4 separate regions of the Homo sapiens genome follow, and regions 2, 3 and 4 are each linked to region 1. Evidence: promoter capture Hi-C in human tissues and cell types (Jung and others, 2019). All regions are on one chromosome and are shown on one strand. Each heading gives the region's core, a stretch centred on a gene start or on the middle of the fragment in contact. The rest is flanking DNA. Distances are from core to core; before and after follow the strand shown.

Evidence for each region. Contacts are between HindIII fragments. The study calls those that stand out against the background at their distance.
Region 2: a fragment that was not itself captured here is called in contact with the fragment with the promoter of MYO5B in region 1 in 1 of the 25 tissues and cell types used here (bladder).
Region 3: a fragment that was not itself captured here is called in contact with the fragment with the promoter of MYO5B in region 1 in 1 of the 25 tissues and cell types used here (aorta).
Region 4: a contact is called between a fragment that was not itself captured here and the fragment with the promoter of MYO5B in region 1, in 1 of the 25 tissues and cell types used here (lymphoblastoid cells).

Annotation. Positions count from the first base shown.
Region 1 is chr18:50,191,469-50,197,876 of GRCh38, reverse strand. It overlaps MYO5B (myosin VB), which reads left to right and starts at 2,730. Exons shown (of 40, transcript NM_001080467.3): 1 at 2,730-3,110. The coding sequence starts at 3,084. RefSeq lists silencers at 2,516-2,755, 2,816-3,055. The HindIII fragment of the contact is 5,061 bases long and covers 7-5,067 here.
Region 2 is chr18:50,414,396-50,420,803 of GRCh38, reverse strand. No RefSeq gene overlaps it. Among named protein-coding and RNA genes, the nearest start is that of SKA1, 43 kb to the right of the region's middle. The HindIII fragment of the contact is 7,478 bases long and covers 1-6,408 here.
Region 3 is chr18:49,964,116-49,970,523 of GRCh38, reverse strand. All of the region lies in intron 10 of MYO5B (myosin VB), which reads left to right. LOC124904299 (a long non-coding RNA gene) reads left to right here. Exons shown (of 2, transcript XR_007066365.1): 2 at 545-803. Among named protein-coding and RNA genes, the nearest start is that of SNHG22, 150 kb to the right of the region's middle. The HindIII fragment of the contact is 7,322 bases long and covers 1-6,145 here.
Region 4 is chr18:50,356,417-50,362,824 of GRCh38, reverse strand. All of the region lies in intron 1 of LOC105372114 (a long non-coding RNA gene), which reads left to right. Among named protein-coding and RNA genes, the nearest start is that of SKA1, 15 kb to the left of the region's middle. The HindIII fragment of the contact is 7,543 bases long and covers 339-6,408 here.

The DNA of each region.
Region 1 (6,408 bases), core at 1,481-3,980:
TTCCTGGATCAAGTAAGTTTTAAAATGTCTTTATTGTTCAAAGGAGGGAAACACCATATCTGATTGTGGAATTAGAAATTCACAAAGCTCTGGCCAAGTGTAGGACTCAGGAATGCGATTCAGTTCAGTTAACATGAATTGAGCTTTTCATTTGTGCCAGGTGTGATGGAAGCCAGACAGTTGGAACCAGTTACGGGTGGGGAGAAAGGATGGAAACAAATGAATGTCAGGTTGGTCCGAGGTCCAAGTGGCATTGTTACCATTGCCTATCTGCAGGTGGAAAGGTGGATCTTGAGTAAGGTTAGAATTAGATTTGAGAATTAGCATTGTGAGCAAGAGACAAAATGGGGGCGTGGCTGAGAAGAAAGATGAGATCTCTGAAATGGAGCATAGTTTTATTCAGAAACCAGGAAGAGGACGCAGGCCTAGAAAATAATGTTGAGAAGGTTTGGTTAGAGAGGCTGAGAAAACAAGAGAAAAATAGTACTCAGGGAAGAGATGGTTTAACGTAATGGGTTGAATCAATTCCCACCCCATGCTTCACAGTGATGAGGCAATTTCAATAGGATAGGTCTGAGTGGAAGCCAAATAAGAAGAAATTAGAACAGCAACATTTATTTATTTATTTATTTATTTATTTATTATTTTTTAAAGATGGAGTCTTGTTCTGTCACCCAGGCTGGAGTGCAGTGGTGTGGTCTCGGCTCACTGCAACCTCCACCTCCCAGGTTCAAGCGATTCTCCTGCCTCAGCCTTCCAAGTAGCTAGGATTACAGGCATGCGCCACCACGCCCAGCTAATTTTTGTACTTTTAGTAGAGACGGGGTTTCACCATGTTAGCCAGGCTGGTCTTGAACTCCTGACTTCAAGTGATCGGCCCACATTGGCCTCCCGAAGTGCTGGGATTATAGGCATGAGCCACCACACCCGGCCAGAACAGCAGCTCTTAAACTTGGCTGCCATTAGAACCATCTGGGAGCTCTTCAGAATCCTTTCACCCAGGGCAACACCCCCCAGACAAGTTAAATCAGAATTTCTGGGAGTGGGAACCAGACATCCACTTGTTTCAAAAGTGATTCTGATGTGCATAAAGTGTTGAGAATCAGAGAATTAAGGAGGTACTGGGCGTAAGTGGAGATAGCTAAATAAGTGAAGCTACTGCTTTAAGAAGTTTAGCAGGAGAGGAAAACACAAAAAGCCAGGGGCCAGTGGAGAGAGGAAGAGTTGCTGGTAGAGAGATGGGACCACTAATGGTGGTGGAGGAAGAGGCCAGGATCTAGGCAGGACTGATGACTTTCTTATTCAAAAAGGGGAGAATCACCTGGAGGCAGAAAGAACAATGAGTACTGGCCCCACACCAGAGTTTATGGTTCAGTAGGTCTGCAGTGGAGCCCAATAACTTGTATTTCTAACAGTTACCAGGTGATGCTGATGGTGGGCGTGGGGGGTGGGGACACACTTTAAGAGCTACAGGAATCCGGGGAAGGGAAATATGCAGAAAAACTTTTGAGGAAGAGAAAAAAATCCCTTTCTGCTCTTGCCACTGATGTGAAGAGTTCCATTTTTAGGTCCAATGAGAGCCGCCCAAGCTTTGGTCAATGCATTTGTCACCCTGGAAGTACCATCCTTTAGACTTTCAGAGGAGCTTTAAAAATTGGGATACCCAGGTCCCATCCTTCATTATATCAGAATTCCTTGGGTTGGGGCCTCTTCCTTGGAACGCTTAAAGCTCCCCATGTGACTCTCATTGTGGAGGTGCCCATGGGAAGGCCTGCACAGGTGAATTACAACGGGATCTTGAGTTCCAGGTGGGATGCCTCTGAGAATCACCTTCTGGGGCTCTTGAACAACTGCCCCGGCTGGTACAGATATATCTTCCGGTTGAGAACCACTTTTCAGGGGCCACCCCTGGGTCAGGGACAGATGTCAGCTTCAGAAGGGAGTGTCTCCTCTGACAGCCCCTCGTCTCCCTCCACAGACTTCTGGCAGTTTTTTTTTTTTTTTCTTGGTTGAAATTTCTACTTTTCACTGGAAGTAGGAGAGGAGCTGAAGTTGCTGCAGGCAGCCAAGTGCCATGGTCAGAGAGGGAACACAAATAAACGAGGTAGTGAGTGGCAAAAGGACCCGGAGTCTGCATGTAGACGAGACGGGGGTTGGGAGAACGTGAGACTTCCCGGAAAAGCAGAAGCCCTCTGAGATGAGTGGCCTGGAGTCTCCTTGGAGGCTGTGGGCGAAAGTGGACAATATTTGTACAGAAGGAGTTACGACTCCCACTTTACTGACAAGGATTTCCGCGCAGAGAGTTCAGTTTGAAGGAGAAGATCCCTGGTGTATGTATATCCAGGTCGCCTTAATAACGATCTACGAGTAACTGAATTTTAATCATGAAAGCGCTGAATACAGCCAGGTAAAATCGAGGGCAATGTCTGGGGCCTTCCAGCCATAGACGCTTCTCTTTTTTCCCCCCTCTCTGGTTAGTTCCTCTTCCCTTTTCTTGTCTGCACCGCGTTCATGCCGGACTCCGCGGGGCCCGGTGCGGGTGGAAGCGGAGCGCGGCAGGGCAGGTGCGGGCGCCGGGGCGCACCTGTGCCTGCGCGCGCGCGGCGTCCAGCAGGGGGCGGCCCGCGCCGGTCCCGGAGCTCCTCTCTGAGCGCCCCGCCCCCGGCCCGGAGGCCCAGGTGGCAGCGGGGGCGCGGGAGGGCGCGTCGGGCCGGGCACCGGCAGGGCTCAGAGGCGCGGCGGCGCACGGGCCGTCCGCTCTGACGCGAGCGGGTCCTCCCTCCTCGCCGGCCCTCGCCTCCTCCCCACACCTGGGAGGGGAGTGGTGCGGCGCGGCCTCCTCCCCCGGCGCTCGCAACTCCTGTCCGGCCGTAGCTGCGCCGCCGCGGCGGGAGTAAAGGTCGCGCCGCCGGGAGCGAGCCGGCCGCGGCGCCTGCGGGAAGCCGGCGGGGCAGGTCGGAGAAGAGCGAGAAGATCGAGAAACTCCAGGCCAGCCCGGGAACATGGCGCCAGGCGGGCCAGCCGCGGACTGAGAGCCGCGGGGCAGCCAGGAGCCGGGGCCCGAGCCCCGCCCGGCCCGGGCCATGTCGGTGGGCGAGCTCTACAGCCAGGTGAGCGCGGCCGCGAGGGAGGCGCCCCGGGGCCGGGGTGGCGCGCTCGGGGCCACCTAGTACTCAGGGTCGCCTTCTCCCTCGGCTACTGGAGGCGGGAGGTGACGGGAGACCCCCCTCCGCGGTGTCCTCCTCGTCACTGTCCTCGGAGTCCCTAACTTCGGTTGGCGGAGAAAGTTTGGCGGTTCCGGGAACGCCCGCACTGACCGGCCACCCGGCTCCTAGAGGTTCCGCAGCGCCACGGCTCAGCACCAAGCCAGGGCTGTCGCCCCCTCCCCGCCGCGCCCCTCACTTTCGTTGCCTGGGCTCGGCTCCAACCGAGTTCCCCGAACGGCAGGGCGACCCTGCCAGCTCTGAGCGCCGTGCGCGGGACGGGCCCCCGCGGTGCTCCCGCTGCTGTCCCCTGTCCCCGCCGTGGACCCCACCCCAGGGGCTCTGCGGCGCCGGCTCTCGAGGGCGCGCCTCCGAGGCGTCCTTTCCTCCCGCATACCCACAACAGGGAACCCTGGACTTGGGAGAGGTGGGGGTTCTGGACTTGGTGGAGAGGGAGGAGACAACCTGGCGTGAGGGCGCGGCGGCTGGATGGAGTGAGGGTAAGCAATGGGTAGAGGGGTGCGCCGTTATCTCCGGAGACCCCAGGGAAGAGCATTGTGAATTTGCTGGGGATGGATGTTTTGACGCGGCCTCTTTGGTACAAAGAGGGCTTCAGTGACTGCGGGGAGGGGGTTGGAGTAAAGTCGAACCGGGAGCAGGGTGTGAGTTTCAGGATGCCTTCAAGGTCAGAAGGGATGTGTGAGGCTGGGTGCTCCGAATCGGGAACAGGTGCAGCCCGGGCGGAGACGCCCGCGTTCCGCAGCAGTTGCTGTGGTTAAAGTTAGGGACAAGCCACCGCTTCCAGGGGAGCTCGCGGCAGCGCTGCAGCCGCCCGGGACCCCTCGAGTTTCAACCTGGAGTCAGTAGTGAGAGGGGCAAAGGCCTTTTCTTCACATGTGCCCTATGCACCTTTAAGAAAACAAGTTTTGGATAGTCCAATGCCTGGTTTTCCTGTTCGTCTTCTTGGGTGGCCAAAACACGTTTAACAGTGCCTATGCACACGCCTCCATGCAGAGTTGTGTGTGCGTGTGGTGTCCACGCGCGTTGCGTGGGTATGCGATTCCCGGGACACCCGCCCGGGCCAACAGGTCTGGGCTGGGTAGGAACAGTCACTTCCGCGTCCTTACCTGGCGATCACACGCGGCTGTCTAGCCCATGTGGGAGCCCTTCGGCTCCGTGGGCTGGCCACCCTTCTAAGTTTGAGGAATTATTCAACTCTCCCATTCCTCCTGGAGGGGAGCAGGGCCGGGATGAGTTCATGCTCAGGAAGGTGGCCGCGGAGGCTGTCACCTGGCTGGGGGTGGGGCCGCAGCAGCCTCAAATACAGCTTCCGAGCCCACCAGGGGCCACCTGTGCAGCGATCAGGGATGGGCGACGGCCTCTGGGGGAGGAGGGGAGGAGGTGGGAGCCAGGGCGTGAACTCTGTGACAGTCCTGGCCCTGGAACGGCACCCCACCCCTCTTAGCTGTGGAGGTATTGGGAGGATCCCTAAAAGCTCAGCTTTCAGTTCTTTCACTGAAGCCGGTTAGGTTTTCAGGAGCTGGGACTGGAGGCTGGAAGCCAGTGAGGCAGGGGAAAAATCTGAACTGGAGTGCTCAAAGAGCCGAAGCTTTGTTACATTAAAGTGCATGGAGATACAACTTGTGCTCCTAAGTAAAAGGAGTGACTCAACTGAATATACCTACAATGTGTCAAAGTCCTTTGTCAGGCAATATTGAATTGCTGTATTATATGAGGGGGAAAGTTTGTGGGGGAAAAATGGAGTTAAAAGATTAAAAATATAAACTTTATTTCTCAACACAGTTTCCATCAAGTTCAAGACACTTTTTTAAGTTATACCAGCCACTTAGTTCGTCCCTAAAGAACTGAGGGTCCTGGGAATTTAACCATGTCAATGCAGTCTCTTTTACATTATTAACTGGAAAAGATGCAGGTCATTTAGTTCAAGATTAGGACACAAAGTCAGAAGGAGCCAAATCAGGACTGTGAGGTGGACGCCTAATAGTTTTCCACAGAAACTCTTGCAAAATTGCTCTTCTTTGAGAGGAATGAGAAGGAGCATTGTTGTGGCAGAAAAGGACTTTCTGGTGAAGTTTCCTGGGTGTTTTTCTGCTAAAGCTTTGGCTTCCTAAAGACACTCATAATAAGCAGATGTCTTCATCATTTGGCCTTCTAGAAAGACAACAAGCAAAATGGCTTGAGCATTCCCCCAAAATGTTGCTGTGATCTCTGCTCTGAACCAGTCCATCTTTGCTGTGACTGGACCTCTTCCACCTCTTGGCAGTCTTTGCTTTGATTGGGCTTTGTCTTCAGGATTGTACTGGGAGAGCCACATTTCATCCCGTTACAATTCAAAGAAATGCTTCAGGGTCTTGATCTCACTTGTTTAGAATTTCCATCGAAAGCTCTGCTGTTGTCTGCAGTTGATCTGGGTGCAGCAGTTTTGGTATCCATCAAGTGCGAACTTTGCTCAACTTTGTTTTCGGTCAGAATCATGTAAGCTGAACCAATTGAGATGTCTGTGGTGTTGGCTATTGTTTCTACCATTGTCAGCCCTCTTCAATTAGGGCACAAACAAGCTACATTTTTTTTTTTTTTCTCTCAAATGGGTGTGGATGGTCTGCTGGTACAGGCTTCATCTTTGACATCGCTTCGTCCCTTCTTCAAATGAATTATCCACTTAAAAACTGATTGTCCCCATAAACTTTTCATAAAGTCATGATTTCACAATTCTTCTCTCCACACTTCGTCATAAATTTGATGTTTGGTCTTGCTTCAATTTTAGTAGAATTCATGTTGCCCTGATAGGGGCTTCTTTTCAAACTGATGACTTAACTTTCTTAGTGCCTCAAACTAGACCCTGTTCTAGATCCCATTCATACTTGTTATAACAAGTATAAAACTATGGGTTTGTTTTGGTGCAGAAAACTCTGAAATCCATGTGAATTTTTTTCCATGATATGCATTTTCCATGACCTTGAAATAGTGCTCATATGAGGCTAATGGACAATTGAATAAACCCTTAATCTTCGGAGCCCTAGTTTTGAAGAACAAGAATTAATATCGGATTGCTTTTAAAGACAATACTTGTAGGAGAAAACACTCAATTTGATTTTTAGTTAGAAATGAATACATTGCATGTTAATTCTTAGGAATGATGAAGTAGTGGGAGTCTGAACTTGGGTTTCAGTGTACTTTTTCTCAG
Region 2 (6,408 bases), core at 2,092-4,591, 220 kb before region 1:
GGAAGGGATACCCCAGCACAGCATAGCTGGTCTACAAAAACGTGGCCAGACTGCTTTTTAAAGTGGGTCCCCGACTCCATTCCTCCTCACCGTCAGGACCTCCCAACCGGGGTCTCCACCCACCCCTGCCGGTGTTTTCTGGCCAACAGAGATTTGAAAGCTCCCTGGGACAGAGCTCCCAGAGGAAGGGATGCGTTGCCATCTTTGCTGTTTGGATGACTTAGCCATTCCAAGCCCAGTGGTGGTAGAAGTGGTTCCCCAGCACAGCAAAGCTGCTCTATGAAAATATGGCCAAACTGTTTTTTTTTTGAGATGGAGTCTCGCTCTGTCACCCAGGCTGGAGTGCAGTGGCGCGATCTCGGCTCACTGCAAGCTCCGCCTCCCGGGTTCACGCCATTCTCCTGCCTCAGCTTCCCCAGCAGCTGGGACTACAGGTTCCCGCCACCAAGCCCGGCTAATTTTTTGTATTTTTGGTAGAGACGGGGTTTCACCATGTTAGCCAGGATGGTCTCGATCTCCTGACCTTGTGATCTGCCCGCCTCGGCCTCCCAAAGTGCTGGGATTACAGGCGTGAGCCACCTCGCCCGGCCCAAACTGCTTTTCTTAAAGCAGGTGCACGATCCCATTCCTCCTCACTGGGTGGGACCTCCCAACCCGGGTCTCCACTCACCTTTGCTGGTATTCTCCAGCAAACAGATTTGAAACCTTCCTGTGTGGGAGCTCCCAGAGGGAGGGGCAGTCTTCTATCTTTGCTGTTTGGGTGAGTGTAAATTAGTTTGAATAATTTTGGAAAGCAGTATGGCAATTCCTCAAAGAGCTAAATGCAGAACTACCATTTGACCCAGCAATCCCATTACTGGGCATATACCCAGAGTAATATAGATTATTCTACCATTAAAGACACATGCACACGAATGTTTGTTGCAGCACTATTCACAGTAGCAGAGATATGGAATCAACCTAAATGCGTATCAATGACAGATTAGGTAAAGAAAATGTGGTACATATACATCATGGAATACTCTACAGCCATAAAGTAGAACGAGATCATGTCTTTTCTGGGAACGTGGTTGGAGCTAGAGGCTATTGTCCTTAGCAAACCAATGCAGAAACAGAAAACCAAATACCGCATGTTCTCACTTATAAGTGGGAGCTAAATGATGGGAACTCATGAACACAAAGAAGCAAACAACAGACACTGGCGTCTACTTGAGTAGGGAGGGTGGGAAGAGGGAGAGAAGCAGAAAAGATAGCTATTGGATACTGGGCTTAATACCTGGGTGATGAAATAATCTGTAGAACAAACCGCCATGACACGAGTTTACCTATGTTACAAACCTTCATGTGTACCCCAAACATAAAAAGTAAAAAAATAAAAAGAATATGTCTCCAGAAAGAAAGGAATTAAACTGGGTAAGATCTACATGTAGACAGGTATTTTTCCCTGAGGGTATTTCTCAGTCGCTAGCCCTACAACTAAAAATAGAAAGCAGTCTTACTGGCTTGAGGTGTCAATGGGAGGACTGGGAAGTTCCAGAATGGCTGATAATGGAGGGCAAAATTCTAGAGAAGAAGGAGCCACAGAGGGAGAAGCCCCCAAATCTACTTACACATTCCATCCAGAAGAGGGGCCTCCAAGGAGTACATTGGAAAGCAACAGCTGGAAGGCAAAAAAGTTGAGTAATGATATCAGCTGCTACCTACAAAAAGGGAGACAAAGTTTGGATACTGAATCCTGCTAAGTTAGAGGGGCTTTTTAAACAGCTTTGGCTTTCTATGGAAACAACAGAAGGGCCTTAGGAGTAAATAACCTGTGACCCAGGACTAATGAGTGAACAGCTGGGAAACATACATGTAATAGAAATACAAGGAGTGGAAAGAGAGGATGGAGAGAAAGAAATATTTGAAGCAATAGTGCCGGAGAATTTCCCAAAATTAATGACAGATACGAACCACAGATCTAAGAATCTTAGAAAACACCAAAGATAAATACCAAAAAACCTATACCAGAGCATATTGTATTAAAACTACAGAAAGCCAAAGAAAAAGAGAAAATCTTGGAAGAAGTCAGGGCAAAAAAGAAAGAACCCCACTTCACCTATAACAGCAACAAGAATAAGAATCACATCAGACTTCTCATCAATAACTATGCAAACAAGAAGACAATAAAGTGATAGATTTAAGATGTTGAAAGGAAAAAAAACAGAAAAGTATCCTTCAAGAGTGAAAGAAAAATGAAGACTTTTCAGACAAATAAATCTGAGGGAGTTTGTTGTCAGTTGACCTGCTTTGCAAGAAATGTTAAAAGAATTTCTCCTTCCTTCCTTCCTTCCTTCCTTCCTTCCTCTCTCTCTCTCTCTCTCTTTCTTTCTTTCTACAGTCTCCCTCTGTTGCTGAGGCTGGACTGTACTGTCGTGATCTCGGCTCGCTGCAACCTCCCTGCCTCGGGCTCCCCTGATTCTCCTGCCTCGGCCTGCCGAGTACCTGGGATTGCAGGCACGTGCCGCCATGCCTGACTGGTTTTTGTATTTTTGGTGGAGACGGGGTTTCGCCATGTTGGCCGTGCTGGTCTCCAGCTCCTGACCTCAAGTGATCTGCCCGCCTTGGCCCCCCAAGGTGCTGGGATTGCAGACGGAGTCTCGCTCACTCAGTGCTCAATGTTGCCCAGGCTGGAGTGCAGTGGCGTGATCTCAGCTCGCTACAACCTCCACCTCCCAGCCGCCTGCCTTGGCCTCCCAAAGTGCTAAGATTACAGCCTCTGCCCAGCCGCCACCCCGTCTGGGAGGTGAGGAGTGCCTCTGCCCGGCCGCCACCCTGTCTGGGAGGTGAGGAGCGTCTCTGCCCAGCCGCCACCCCGTCTAGGAAGTGAGGAGCCTCTCTGCCTGGCCGCCACCCCATCTAGGAAGTGAGGAGCATCACTGCCCAGCCACCCATCATCTGGGAAGTGAGGAGCGCCTCTGCCCGGCCGCCCATTGTCTGGGATGTGAGGAGCACCTCTGCCCGGCCGCCACCCCGTCTGGGAGTTGAGGAGCTCCTCTGCCCGGCCGCCCCGTCTGGGAAGTGAGGAGCGCCTCTGCCCGGCCGCCCCATCTGGGAAGTGAGGAGCGCCTCTGCCCGGCCGCCCCGTCTGGGATGTGAGGAGCGCCTCTGCCCGGCCGCCCCGTCTGGGAAGTGAGGAGCGCCTCTGCCCGGCCGCCCCGTCTGGGAGGTGAGGAGCTCCTCTGCCCGGCCGCCCCGTCTGGGAGGTGAGGAGCACCTCTGCCTGGCCGCCCCGTCTGGGAGGTGAGGAGCGTCTCTACCCGGCCACCCCATCTGGGAAGTGAGGAGCGCCTCTGCATGGCTGCTGTGCAATCTTCCAAGTGTGAAGTGACAGCCTTTCTGCAGGTGTACCCAACAGCTCCGAAGAGACAGCGACCATTGAGAATGGGCCATGATGACGATGGCGGTTTTGTCGAAAAGAAAATGGGGAAATGTGGGGAAAAGAAAGAGAGATCAGATTGTTACTGTGTCTGTGTAGAAAGAAGTAGACATAGGAGACTCCATTTTGTTCTGTACTAAGAAAAATTCTTCTGCCTTGGGATGTTGTTAATCTATAACCTTACCCCCAACCCCGTGCTCTCTGAAACATGTGCTGTGTCAACTCAGGGTTAAATGGATTAAGGGCGGTGCAAGATGTGCTTTGTTAAACAGATGCTTGAAGGCATCAAGCTTGTTAAGAGTCATCACCACTCCCTAATCTCAAGTACCCAGAGAAACAAACACTGCGGAAGGCCACAGGGACCTCTGCCTAGGAAAACCAGAGACCTTTGTTCACATGTTTATCTGCTGACCTTCTCTCCACTATTATCCTATGACCCTGCCACATCCCCCTCTCTGAGAAACACCCAAGAATAATCAATAAATACTAAAAAAAAAAAAAAAAAAAAAAAGAATTTCTTCAGGCAGAAGGAAAATGATATATGTCAGAAACTTGATCTGACATATATTTTCAGAAAGGAAGGGCATTTGGAGAAGGAATAAATGAAGATAAAATAAAATCTTTTATTTTTTATGTTCATAATTGTTCTAATAGATTATTGTTGGTTTAAAATAATAATAGCAACAATGTTTTAGGTGATTATAATTTGTGGGTAAGTGAAATGATTGATCTTACAAGGCACAGTAAGAAGAAACGACATATTCTTGTACAAGGTACATATACTACCCATGAACTGGTATACTGTTATTTGAAATTGGACTTATATTAATTGTAAATATATATTGCAAACTCTAGGACAAACAATAGGAAAATGTTTTAAAAGAAGATAATATATATTGCTAAGAGAGGAGAGAAAATGGAATGATATAAAATCCTTAAAACAGAGAAGTCAGAAAAAGAAGGGAATGTTTTCTGAAAACAAAAACAAAAACAAAAACAAGTGCCACAAATAGAAAACAGTAGCAAATATGGTGGATATTAACCTAAATATATCAATAATCACTTTAGAGGTGAATTTTCTAAATATATCAATTAAAGGACAAACACTGTCAGAGTAGATTAAAAAAACCAAGACCCAAGTAGAGGCTGTCTAAAAGAAAACCATTATAAATATAAATATGCAAATAGATTAAAAATAAAAGAATGGAAAAAGATATATACACCTTGCTAACACTAATTGAAAGAAAGCTGGTGTACCTATATATAAGTTTTAGACAAAGCCAACTTTAGAACAAAGAAAATGACCAGGAAAAGAGAGACATTAATGATAAAGGGGTAAATTCTCCAAAAAGACATAATAATCCTTAGTGTGTGTACACCTAACAACAGAGCATCAAAATATATAAGGCAAAAACTGATGGAACTGCAAGAGAAATAGACAAAGTCACTATTATAGTTGGAGACTTCAATACCCCTCTATCAGTAATTGATAGACGCAGCAGGCAGAAAATCAGTATAGATGTGGTTGAGCTGAACAATAAACCATCAGTCAACTGAATTTAATTGACATTTATAGAATACTTCATCCAACAACAGTGGAATACACATTCTTCTCAAGCTCACATGGAATATTCACTAGGATAAACCACATCCCAGTCCAGAAATCACAACTTAATCATACAATAGAAATCATACGAAGTATGTTCTCAGAACAACATGGAATTAAACAAAAAAATCAATAACACAAAGATATATAGAAAAATCTGAAAATATTTGGAAATAAAACCACACACTTGTAAATACACATGGGTTAAAAAAAGGAGTTTTGAGAAATTTTAGAATATTTTGAAAGAAGGTAAATGAAGATACAACTTATCAAAATTTGTGGGGTACAGAAAAAGCAGCGCTTAGTGGGAAATTTAAAATAGTACAGCCACTCTGGGGAACAATTTGACAATTAAAAAAAGAAAACTAAATAAACAACTACCATAGGATCCAGCAAGAACACTCTGGGGAACTGCACTCCCAGAGAAGTGAAGACATGTTCACACAAAAAGGATCCTTGTGGTGATGGAAATGTTCTGTATCTTCACTGTATCAATGTCAATATCCTGGTTGTGATACTGTACTACACAGATTTGCAAGATGTTACCATTGTGATAAAGGGTACAGGGGATCTCTCTGTTATTTCTTACCACTGCATGTGAATCTATAATTATTTCAAAATAAAAAGAATTTTATTAAATGACTAAAAAAAGGATAGAGGTGTGGGTTACATGGCTATATGGACTGGTCAACACTCACTGAGCCATATCCTTAAGATCTGTACATTTCACTGTATGTAAATTTTATCTTAGTTTTTTAAACAAGATTTTGTTTCTAAGTTGCCTAACTTAACTGCTTTTCAATATACCAGGGCAAAAGAGTACTCATAATAAAGAATTTGAGGCACAGTCTGCTAGTCACATTATAATTTCTCATAAATACTTTTGTGTGTTCCTTAGAGACTTGAGTCAACCTAATTTTAACAGAGCTAAATTGATATTATATTAAATTATATTCAACTCTCTAATCATATATAGTCTTAGCTCCAGTTTGAGTCACATTCTTTGCAATGTATCAGGAAGATCCCTCAATATCTTGAGTAATTCTTCCCTTTTGCCACTTATATTAGTAAGTATATTTGTGGAACAATGGCAATGGTTTATTAGGAGATGGGATATTTCATAAAAGCAATCATTTAATATTATGAAACAAAACTGCATACTATCAAATATAATGCTACTCAAAGCACTACACTCATTTCATTTATGATTAGGTATAATTTACTTATAAATTATAAAATATTAAAGCCATACTTAATAAGCAAAATAAATTAGAAAACTAAAAATATTGACTGAAAAAAAGGCCACGTTTTTATCAAGGTCCTTAGTCAATGAAAGCTTCTTAGTTTTTATTACGTAATTAGTAACAGAATTTCAGTATTTCTT
Region 3 (6,408 bases), core at 1,235-3,734, 230 kb after region 1:
CACTGTGTTCTGACTCATAGTTAGCTTGTAGAGGAGAAAGGCTGTGGGCTTCTAAACAAATTAGCATGGGCCACAGCTGCTTCCACCATGACTGTGGTGAGTGCTCTGCTCAGAGGCCCTTCCCCAAGGCTTTTCTGAATGGTTCCAGACCCCCAGTGTCTGGTGGAAGCTTCCCTACATCTTGCTCCTCTGTCCCAGCTCCACAAAAAGTGCAAAGCAAGCAGTACTCAGAACAATTTAGTCACCCCAAGCTGAGCTCTTCACCTTAACCAAGGATCTGTGAAGTCGCCTTCAGGGTATTTTTGACCAGGCAGGGTATGGAAATTAATAGGGGAGATCCTGGCAGCTTTTGGCTGGGATTCCCTTTCCAGGTTGCATTAACCTGCATTTGCCTCTCTAGGCCTGATTAATTGCAGTCTGTAATCCTTTATACCTCTCCTCCCCTTGAGTCTCTAATCCTTTGTTCCTATCCTCTCTTTGAGGCAACAAGAAATAAACGGCTTCAATTTGGGAAAAATACACATTTACTTGTCTTTGATTTCAGCCTTCAAGATGCCAAGGTAGCAGAGGGCTTTGGCTATGGCCAGCCCATTCTTGCGGAGGACAGTTGGCCTGGGAGCAACACAGGCTGTAACAGATTCATGTGTTCTGCTGAGGAACAGCTGGGGAGAGAATGGGGTAGAAGGTGGGGAAGTTTTGACCCCAGGAAGCAGGACATAGGATTTCCTGGGATTTTATATCCTCATCAGTCCTCTGTTACTTTCTTGTGGTACTTCCTAATAATAAATTAGCATCCAACTCTATTCGGTGCTCTTTAATGGTATGTTTAAAAATGCCTTTAAGGCCGGGCGCGGTGGCTCATGCCTATAATCCCAGCACTGTGTTGTTAACGGTGGAGGGTGTCCAGGTTCTTGGCGTCTTGAACAAAGAATTGGACAAAACGCACAAAGCAAGGAAGGAATGAAGGGATTTATTGAAAATGAAAGTACACGCCACAGTGTGGGAGCAGGCGGAATGTGTTTTACATATTCATTTACAAGTTGTTACATATTCTGGTTATTAATCTTTTATCAGAAATATGATTTGCAAATATTTCCTCACGTTCTGTAGGTTGACTACAATGATATATTTTAAGTAAACTTCTTAGACCCACTGTTCACCTTTGTTTGGTGGGGAAAAAATATTCTTTTGCTTTAGTTTTCTTGGTCTCGCTCTCCAAAATAAACATAAATAACCTCAAAGCTGCAATAATTATTTGGAGGCTACCCATCTCTTCTCTAGCCAGTATCGAAAGGTTTCACAGAAAATGGAGGGGGAGAAATCAGGAATTGCATTAACCCTTCAGCCTGTGACAGTGTCTCAGCCCTGGACAGCCCAGAAGATCCCTGGACATGCCTTCTTCAGGGAGGACATGCATGGCTAGCCACAGTGTTCTCAAACCTTGCAGATCATCGGAAGCTGTTGGCTTCACCCTGGAGTCTCCCAGCCTCCTAGGAAAGCCTCATAGCTCAAGAGGGCTCTAAAGCCAGGCTCCACCTTCCCGAATTGTTCTGAGGTGGCCCTTTGGAGTGTGCCTGGAGCCTGACACCACTGTGTGCTTCCAAGGCTCAGATGAAGTTCCATGTTCTCTCTGTCCATGCCAGTACTCCCACACTATGTGGCAGTCCAGGTCTCACTAACGCAGGCCTCTATAGCAACTGTTTCAGTACTGAGTGAGTGGTTAAGTTAAATATTAAAAGCTAAAAAAGTCAGTGCCCTCATACAAAGGCTGGAATGTAACAAGAGCCCACCAAGAGTCTTGCCTAGGCCCTTCCTGGGCCTTAAAGCATGACAAAATAAGGAATGAATTCTTAACAGGACCCGTTTAAGATTAAACAAGTTTTATTGTGGGTCTGAAGAAACTCCCCAGGCCTCTAGAAACAAGTTTATTGGGGGGCCTGAAGGAACTCCCCAAACCTCCGTGATTTAGCAGGAGACAAGATAAGGGTAATCACCCCAGCACCCGGACCCATTTAGATTAAGTAAATTTACTGAGGCTCCAGAGGAAAGTCTTCAAGACTCAGATCTTAGTTATAGATTAGAAGTTAATCACTTATGTCTTTGGATGAATGCACACTTACATGTAGACATACAGCTTAGAAGGTATATAAGCTCTGAAAAACTTTGTAATTTTGAGTTGGGCTGGCGATAATTTCCAGGCCTTCTCCCTGTAACTGGTTGCAGAAAGTAAAAACTCTTTTCCTCCCCAGCTCATCTGCATCTTGTTATTGGGCCACGAGAATAAGCAGCCCGACCCTCAGTTTGGTTTGGGAACACTATGGCCTCATTGTCTTTTAAAAGCCTACAACACATACAATTTCTATTCCTTGGGGAGGCTCTCATGTACTAGTTTCCTGTCATCTGCCCAGTAGCTCTTCTGGGCAGGGACTGTGACTTGCTCATCTTTACAGCCTTCATAGTTTGGGACAGTTGGCTGTTAGGTTGGGAGAGGATCGCCATACAGTGGATGTTTTCCTGTCCTGCATTGGAGTTTCAGGCCTGAAGACGAGCTGGGAATTGGAGCATTTGGCAAACTGAGTGGATTTAGGTCCTCAAGAAGAATAACTGACCTTCGCCTTGGGGTGTGAACAGTGCCTGGGATTGTGTTCTGTCTAAAAAAACTAGTCCTGGGTGGGGGCATCTAGGCACAGAGAAGCACCTGAGCGGAATGCAGGCCCCACCATTCCAAGGTACAGCCAGCATCCCGAGGTTGTTCAGTAAAGAGATCAGAAGGGTTGGCCTCTCTGACAGACCCAGGGTGGCCTTGTGAGATTTTATAGGCTTCAAGATGGAAAGGGACCTTGAAAGGATGTCTGGATCATTTCTCTGACCTCAATGCATGATGGCCCTGCTTTTAAAGGCTTCTCCAGGGAGAATTTCTCCATGTTATATTTTCTGTGTGACTTCTAATAATCATTCCCTGGAAGCTATCGTCTGTATCTAATCTGTAGTCCATCTTTTCAGTCTACCAAAGGCAGAATGCTGGAGAGTGAGCTTTATAAATTGGAAAGACCAGGCTGAGCTAGGAGATTTTAGTTCCTTTGACCTGTGCCAGGGGAACGTAGAGTTTCCCAATCTTCAAAGCATCTCACTGCCTCTCTGTTCTCTCTCCAGGTCATGGAGTGAGAGATTCAAGGAGGTTGATCATTAACTTAGTGACTAATTGACTTTTTATTGCAGTTTCACTTTCCAACGGACACTACCTTATTTGTAGAGGCATCTGTGTCCCTTACTACACTCTGAAGTTAAGGTAGAATGAGAAGGAAATTGTATACTTTTCGACTATGAAAATAGAAATGGAAACAGTGTGATCATTGTGCCATCGAGAGACCAGATGCCACATTTCAGCATCGATTCTTACTCTATGTTTTGACCTTCCTCCGGCCCAAGGATTCTGGTTTAAATATTTTCAACACTGATTTTACAAGAGAAATTCAGTTCTCTTTAGCATATAAATTTCTTTGTGACACTTTAATGTTGTGAACTATAAATTGATTCATTGTGTTTATTTTAAAAAGTCTTCTCTGTTGATGGGAGGAATTACTATAAATATAATTCCATTGTAAAGGAAAAGTTACCCAATCTCCCCAACTGTGGCTTTCTGAGGTCTGTCATTTTAGATGTTTCCCCAAGCTGCCCGAGCCCCTCATTCATTTCTGGGCCTCCGGCATTTAAGTAATTATGCTAGATGGCACAGGAATTGTTACCAGATAATATCTTAGAAATAGGAAAATTACAAGCTAATTTCAGTCCATCTCAAATTAATGAGAATGTTCTTTGTGGAGTGCTACCAGTGTAAACCTTTAGAAAATGACAAGTCTGAGATATTTAAATCCTCTGTGGAGCTTAGCACAGCTCTGCCAGCACACCCAATTGCTATTATCTGGCCAATTGCTGGGGTGGCTCTTTTATCTCCCACCTAGGTTTTATTAATTCAATTTCCTCTGGGGCTTGGCTGCCATCAGCAGCTTCTCTCAGGGTGGAGGATCGGGGAAGGCAGTAAGGTTCTAAGGGACATAGCTCAGTCTTTAAGACTATCATCTGGGCTGGAAGGGCCCCAATTCAAGGCAGTGACTGGCAGACACAGTGCTTCTCCTGCTTGGTCTGGAGTGCACAGGGGTGGCCTCCTTCATCCCAGCATACACTTTACATCTTTGATCTTGTTTTTTCAACCTAGAATTATTTCTCACACGTGGGCATGGCCAAAGGCTGTGCTTTAATGTGGTTTGTCTCCAAGCAGTTGACTCATTTAATCTCTAAATGATTTCCTACTCCTCCTGATGGGGGAGGTGAGCACCAGGGTGGGAGAAGCCTGATGTATTCTGGGCACCGGCCCGGCCCCTTTGGGTATCTGATGCCTCTATCTGTGGTGTTCCCTCTGCACAGGTGCTATCTCTCCACCACCACCATCCTCAGCCCCCATCAGGGCCAGCTGCAACATTTCTCTCTGGGGTGGTACTGAGGGACTATGCTCTATTTGGAAGGGCTTGCATGACACTTTGTATGTATGACACTGAGAAAATTTAGTTGTACTGAAGAATGGAAAGGGTAGAGACATGGAGTGGGCTGAATGGAGCCTGTGTCCATCGCTATTACCTCGTTGGTATTACTGGCCCTTTCCCATTCACTATGAGCTCAAATACCTCCTTCTAGGACATCATCCTCCATATTCACAGCCCTTCCACCTCATCTGTTTTTCCTTTTTCATGAAACTTCTCCTCCTCTCTGAATTAAGACTGTGGTCTCAGAAATCAGACTGTCTGGGTTCACACACTGCCTCTGCCTACCGACTCTCTGGCCTTGGGCAGCACAGCTTATTCAGTCTCCCTGCCCATCAGTTTCTTCAGCCACAGGATGGGATTAATAATAAGGCCTAACTCTTGGCTGCTGGAGGCATTACTCAGAACTTGTGGAGCACTTGGGCTTAGTGTTCTGTGGGCTCTCATTAGTGGGGCCACTGCCGTCCATTTGGTGCATTGGGCAGTATAGAATGAGAAGAGGTGTGTGTGTGTGTGTGTGTGTGTGTGTGAAAAGAAGTGTGTTTGTATGAAAAGAAGTGTGTGTGAATGAGAAGAGATGGAAAATGTCCATCTCTTCTTCATAGGCTTCTGCCCTTCTCACCCCTCAGCCTGATGCTGCTGTGGAGCATATAAGGTGGGCTGCAAGCATTTGTAGCTAAAGCTGCCAATGTGTGTATAATGTTGCCGGCATGGTGAGTGTGACCACATCCATCCTGTTGCCTGGGTCTTATCTGCACATCCAGTTGGTCATTTGAGGCCCTCTCATCCACATCTTCCTTCATGCCCAGAACCTTTCTATTGGTTGGCCACCAGCAGTGTACGTCAGGCCCTGACTGGATCTTTCTGGCTTCCTACTGTAGTAAGAACTACCTTGCTCACCTTCGTGCCTCCAGGCTTGCACACTCTCCCCCGGCTCACAGTTGTTCTCCTGCCGGTCTCTAAGGTGCAGGTCAGGTTGTCAGTTCTTAACTTGACATCCTTCGGAATCTCTCTGCTGCTGCCTGGTAAATTCCAGACCCCTTGGCGTAGCCAGCATGGCCTGAGGGAGGACCCCTGCCTCTGCCCACTACGCTGCATATCATGACCCCCATCCTCCCCTCTAACGGTTCCACCTTCCCCTGCCCAAAGATTGGGCCATATTGCACACATTGGAGTTAAGCAATGAATGATAGTGTTGATATTCTAAGATACAAAGCGCTCAGGTAAGTCCATTTTTAAAGTTAAAATCCAACAAAATTGACCAAGCATCAGACAATTCACGAAGTACAATGACTAGTACAGTCAGACAGAAAAATGTTGAGCTGTAGTAATGATAAGTTAAAATTCAGACTTTTTATGTTCCAAGGAACCAAAGACTTTAAAAAGCTAACATTACACAGTTGACCAAAGAGCTGTGATACACTACCATTCCCAGACTCCCAGTAAAGAGGGGCAGGACCAGATGGGGAGAACACTGGAGGCTGACCCGAATGGAGCATGGGGAAATTTTCCAGGTGATGAAAATGTCCTCCATCTGTGTTTGCATATTCACAGAACATCTCGATATAAAAATTCTCTATCAAAAATGCATCACCCATCAACAGAAGTTGAGAAAAAAAAATTTAAGAAAAATGCATGAAAATATACACTTAAAATTGGTGTATTTTACTGTGTGTAAAGGCTAACTCAATAAAGATGATTAAAACAAAATATTGTTAACCAGTATTAGAAGAACAAGACACTTTCGTACATTGTGAGGCTGGAGGTGGGGTCATAACAAACATTAGTTCCACCTTTCCAGGAGTTAATTTACTTCTACCTTTTAAGAAAAGTGGTACTGTTTGACATGGTAATTTCTTTAGGTTAGCAT
Region 4 (6,408 bases), core at 2,861-5,360, 160 kb before region 1:
TGACTTCCAGGTAGCTGTCATTGTGTCTTCACGTGGTGAACAGAGAGAGAGAGAGAGAGAGAGATCTTCCTCTTCATATAAGGCCACTAATCCTATAAGCCCCACTCTTGAGACCTCATTAACTTTAATTACCTCCTAAAAGCTGTATTTCCAAAGTCAGTCATGTTGGAAGTTAGGGCTTCAACATGTGAATTTTTGGGAAACACAATTCAGTCTATAGCACATACATATAATTTTTTTGTTTTACTATGAAAGGCTAAACTTTTATGTCTCCAGCTGTTAGTGTCTAGCATTTTAATGTGACAGAATGTGTTTAGAGAATAAGAGGATAAAATAAGGGGGGAAGGAACAAAGACACACACAACAAAATTTATTTAACGATGTCCAATTATAGTAAGAAAAACTTTCCTCCTTCAGGTTGCAGTGAGTTGAGATTGTGCCATTGCACTCCAGCCTGGGCAACAAGAGTGAAACTCTGTCTCAAAAAAAAAAAAAGAAAAACTTTCCTCCTTCTAGTTCACGTTAGAGGATGGCTGCTGCATAAGGGGGTATAAAATGTCCAACCCAAGCAATAACAATATCTGAATAATCCCACAAACCCTCACAGGCTATAGGTGCACTGACCTCAAGAGTGACTTAGAGACTGGGCATGGTGGTTCATGCCTGTGATTCCAGCACTCGGGGAGGCTGAGATGGGTGGATTGCTTGAGACCAGGAGTTTGAGACCAGCCTGGCCAGCATAGCGAGACCCCCCATCTCTATTTTTTAAAAAAATTTTAAAAAACAACAATAAAGAGTGATTCAGAGCTGACTGGAAATTGGAGCACTGCCTTCTGTTTAAAGAAAAGGAGGCTGGGTGTGGGGCTCATACCTGTAATCCTAACACTTCAGTAGGCCAAGGCAAGCTGATTGCCTGAGCTCAGGAGTTCAGGACCACCCTGGGCAACATGGTGAAACCCTATCTGTACTAAAAATACAAAAAAAAAAAAAACAAATTAGCCAGGCCTGGTGGCGCATGCCTGTAGTCCCAGCTACTTCGGAGGCTGAGGCACGAGAATCCTTTGAACCTGGGAAGTGGATGTTGCAGTGAGCTGAGTCGCGCCACTTCACTCCAACGCAGGCAACAAAGGGAGACTGTCTCAAAAAAAAAAAAAAAAAAAGAAAAAGAAGGAAAAAGAGATGTATTAACATAGCAGCTTTGTGGTACTGAATTGCTTGTTTTTTTTTTTGTTTATTTGTTTGTTTTAATAAGCAGAGATTGTATTTCAGCACCTTTTGCCCATGCTTCCTTTTCAACACAAAGGAAAAGAGTAAAAGCACTGTTACCATTCAAGGTGGAAAATTCAATTTGGATCACTGGAGGAGAATTTAATAAAAAGAAATATTTAAAATATATGGGTAGTTTACAGAAGATAGCAAATGATGATGGAGTTCTCTGGGGCTTGCAATCTCAGGGAACAGTTATTATTACCTCTAAGCACAAAGATTGAAGGTCATGGGGTGAGGGGTCTATGGAATGGGTCACCTGACAGGAACTATGGCCTTCAGTATCAATTCAGAGAACACTCATGGGGAGAATAAATACCTGCCTCCATTCTCCTCCCACCTATGGATCTTTTGCTGATAACCCTACACTGGTTGGCTGAACCCAACCTGAAGCCAGAAGGCAAAGGAAACCCTAGGTCAGCACCCACATTCCCCCACTGGGTCCAGGACTGGCTGGAAAACCACAGAGAGTGGATCTTAGGGGGCAAATGGAAGACACCAGCACAAGCCTTTAGATTATGCTGTTCACATACTGACATACTTTGTGAATTTGATAAAGTATTTATCAGAACAGTCATTAGTATTTTACATATAAATATTTGAAATCAAGTACTATAATAAGTTACATAAGTATATCTTTTATTTGATAGGGATTTTTCCCAATGCATTTTAAGCACTTTAAAGGATATTGTTACGTTGGTATTTACAAAGTGGGCAGTTGTCCAGTTTCTGAGATAGAGAAGTATAAGGCTTGCCAAATTTCCTAGAATCAATTAGTTGTGGAAGCAGCTGCCAATCTGATCTCTAATAACGGGCCACAGCAAAGCCAGACAGAACCATTTTCATGTCATTTACATCAATGTTTTCATTTTGCCAGATAGGTTTTAATCTCCCAGGCCAAGGCATTTTTCTTGCTTATCTCCTGAAAGTTATTTTTTTTAAGGAAAAATTTAACTATAAAAAGGAAAACACAGAATTTCATTTTATTAACTGCCATTATGATGTGCAAGTCTATATAATGTATAATGAGGCAGTTTTGGTGTTTTAGAAGTCCTCTATGTGGATACAACTAAGCATACTGAGGTACAGATTCTGTATATAACCTTTATATAAGGTTAAATTAATAACATGTACTTCAAAGATGCTTATAGTAAATTGCAAGATTGTAGATCTTTGCATCAAAGATTTATCATACATCATTAGAGCACTCCCAAACCTCCAAATAAACTTCCCAGATAATTTAGAAAATGGTTAAATTATGATAGGAATCTTTCACGTGACATTGCATCACTGTTATAGCAGAGGGGACAAACCTAGGCACAGTGAATTCACCTTCCCAGATGCAATTGGTGTTTGAGAAAAATTGAGGCTGCCCAGAATGAGTCAAAGCTGCAAATGAGCTCCCCAGAGCCTGGCTACATTCAGGGGAGTAGAATGTGTGCCCCTACCATGATGGTTGGTAGAGCAGCAAAGCTCAGTACTCTGTTCACCATGTAGTGGTCACATGCACATTCTGCAGTTGAGTGGATTGGGTCTCCCTTGCCAGACTTGATGAAGCTGTTCCAAGGCCCAGATTTTCACCTCTGCATTTTCGCTTGTACCCTGTTGCCAAACCATTCACTTCACCTCAGTGCCTGGGCAGGAACATCACCACTGTGATTCTACTTTCATAAGCAGTGACAAGTGTGAGTTCACTGTTATGACAAAGGATGTGGTTGCCAATTCCGAAGCTGCTGTGGATGGCAGTAAGGCAGGATAGAGTGGAAGAGGCAAGCTGGTCACCTCACCCCCGAGCCCCACTCCACACAATGCATTTCTTTTTTTTTCTTTTTCTTTTTTTTTTTTTTTTTGAGACAGAGTTTTGCACTTGTTTGCCAGGCTGGAGTGTAATGGCAGGATCTTGGCTCACTGCAACCTCCTCCTTCCAGGTTCAAGCGATTCTCCTGCCTCAGCCTCCTGAGTAGCTGGGACTACAGGCATGTGCCACCATGCTCAGCTAATTTTGTATTTTTAGTAGAGACAGGGTTTCTGCACATTGGTCAGGCTGGTCTCAAACTCCCGACCTCAGGTGATCTGCCCACCTCAGCCTCCCAAAGTGCAGGATTATGAGCATGAGCCACCGCGCCCGGTCCACCCAATGCATTTCTTAACTGTCTGTCCTCCTGACTAGGGTCTACACCTCTCTGCCATCCATTATACTTCACTGGTCTTGCCCAGCTCCTGGTCTTGCCTCTTCCACTCTATCCTGCCTCACTGCCATCCACAGCAGCTTCAGAATTGGCAACGACATCCTTTGTCGTAACAGTGAACTCACACTTGTCATTGCTTATGAAAGTAGAATCACAATGGTGATGCAGTTGACAGGAGGGCAGCCACACCTGACATTATGGTCAGTAGTGAGCTTGGGGGTGATGGCAGCTCCCTTTCTGAAATGCTGATGTGGAAACCCAGGCTTCTTTGCATGAGGCACACATCCTCTCTTGATTTGGCCCCTGCCTGCCTCATCAGCTTCATCTTTCAGCACCTCCTGCTTGGACGTTTATCTCACAGCAACAGCTGCCTGTAGGGTTGCTCCTGTGCCCCTGTGTGTGACCCCCCACCCCTCCCTCTGCCATCAGGACACACACAAGCCCTGCCAGCCCACCCATGTTGTCTGACCCCACTAAGTCTTTGGTTATGATGTTCTTTCTACACCTCTCATTATTCTCTATCTCAATCATCCATTCATTTTTCAAAATGTAGTGAACGAATCCCCTCCCATTGGAAGCCTTCCTTGATCCCTTCTTGGATTAAGTTTCCCTGCGAGTTTTCTTCTGATTTAGTTGGTCTAGGGGTGGGGTTCAGAATCAGAAATTTAAAAACTCCTTGGATAATTCTAATGTGAATCAGAGTTGAAAGCCATTGAGGGAAAAGAAAGGGAAGATGGGAGGAAACAAGACGGTGGGGCTTTCCAGGTTCCTACCTGAGGCTCACTGGTCTTCTACTGAAATGCAACACCAGGAGGGGTGTCAGGAGTTGAACTGTGCTCACCCCACATTCATATTTCAAAGTCCTAACCCCCAATACCTCAAAATGTGACTTATTTGCAGATAGGATCTTTACAGAGGTAATCAAGTTAAAATGAGGTCATTTGCTGGGCCCTAAACCAATATGACTATTGTCTTTACAAAAAAGAGGAAATTTGGACATGAAGACATGCAGAGAGGATGGTGATGTGAACAGGCAGGGAGAAGATGGCCATACAAGCCAAGGAGAGAGGCTTGGAGCAGACCTTCCCCTCAGAGGAAACAACCCCTGCCAATACCTTGATTTCAAACTTCTTACCTCCAGCGCTGTGGACAATAAAGTTCTGTTGTGTAAGAAGCCACTCAGTTTGTGGTACTTTGTTTTGGCAACCTGAACAAATCAATACAGAGGGTAACAATAAGAAAAAGCCCTACCAGCGTATTGCTTGAGCTCAGGAGTTCAAGACCAGCCTGGGGACCATGGTGAAACCAGGTCTCTTAAAAAAAATACAAACATTAGTCAGGAGTGGTGGCACGCACCTGTAGTCACAGCTACTCAGGAGGCTGAGATGGGAGGATCGCTTGAGCCCAGGTGGATGAGGCTGCAGTAAGCCATGATGGTGTCACTGCACTCCAGCCTGGTTGACAGAGAAAGACCCTGTCTCAAACAAATAAATAAATAACAAAAGAAAAAGAAAAAAAAAATTCTCCACCATCCCTGGATTCACTTGTATTTCCTATGAGCTAAGCCTGGGCTCTTCCTGGTGATGGATTGAACTTATCTTTGCATTGAGGAGATATTGTTTTTAAAAATCATGAGCTCTAAAGGAAAGGTTTTTGTGTTCAATACACTCTGTAAGAAATGAATAAGAATGTTCAGATAATCTTTATGTAGGTCCTTAAGAGTTAAGCTTTGAGTAGAGAGGCTGTTTCTTGATGATGCCAAAAGGATGAAGTATTACCATAAAGCAGAACACGTTATCTCTGAGTGCTATCAATAAAGCTCCATCCAAATCATAGCTTACTTAGAATGCTGAATATTTGTCATCTTCCTCAAACGTGAGAAAACAGATTTTGGCTTTATTGTAATGCTGGCTGGAAGGTTTACTTGCCACATGGCCACAAGGTGGCAGGGCAGTGCCATTCTTCTGGAAGCCACCAGAAAAACGCAGCTAGGACTACGTGGCCACAGGTAGGAAGTCAGCAGTGCTCTTCAAGTTTATGAAGTTGAACTTTCGCTCTCTTTTTAAGCACTCCCTTTTTCTGAAAATCAAAGTAGCACATGTTTTTAATTGAAAATGTTATCCTGGGCAACATAGTGAGACCCTGACTTTATAAAAAATTTAAAAATTAGCCAGCTGTGGTGGTACACACCTGTAATCCCAGCTACTCAGGAGGCTGAGGCACGAGAATCACTTGAACCCAGGAGGTGGAGGCTGCAGTGAGTAGAGATTGTGCTGCTGCACTCCAGCCTGAGTGACAAAGAGAGACCCTGTCTCAAACACACACACACACACACACACACACACACACACACACAGAAAAATATAAAGAATAAAACAAAAAATTCATTATCCCACCACTCAGAAACAAACATGGGATGTGTAGACCATTCCCAGCCTTCTCTGCCAATGCCACCTGCTTAGGATACCCCTCTCTCACCTGCTCTGCAACACCCCTCCTGCCTTATCTCTCTCACTTCCTCACTCTGCCTAACGTGCCTCTCCCCATCTTTCTTCTTAACACTCACTACTATTTCACAGCAGTTGTCACTGCCTCCTCTGCTAGTCCGTGAGCACCATGTGGGCAGATAGCTTGTCCTGTCAACCCCTACCACCAGGAGCAGCAGTCCCAGGATGTCAACCCACTGCATTGCAGAACTGTCTATTTCTCCCTTCAAGTCTGTCATTTTTTTGGCTTCATACATTTTGGAGTTCTGTTGTTTGGTGCATGTCTCAGTCCCTTTTGTGTTGCTATAAAAGAATACCTGAGACTGGGTAATTTATAAAGAAAAGAGTTTTATTTAGCTCATGGTTCTGCAGGCTGAGGATCTCAATGGCATGACCCTGGCTCTGGCAAGGGCTTCTGTGCTGAGTCACAACATGACAGAGAAGGGCAAAGAGGAAGCAGACGTGTG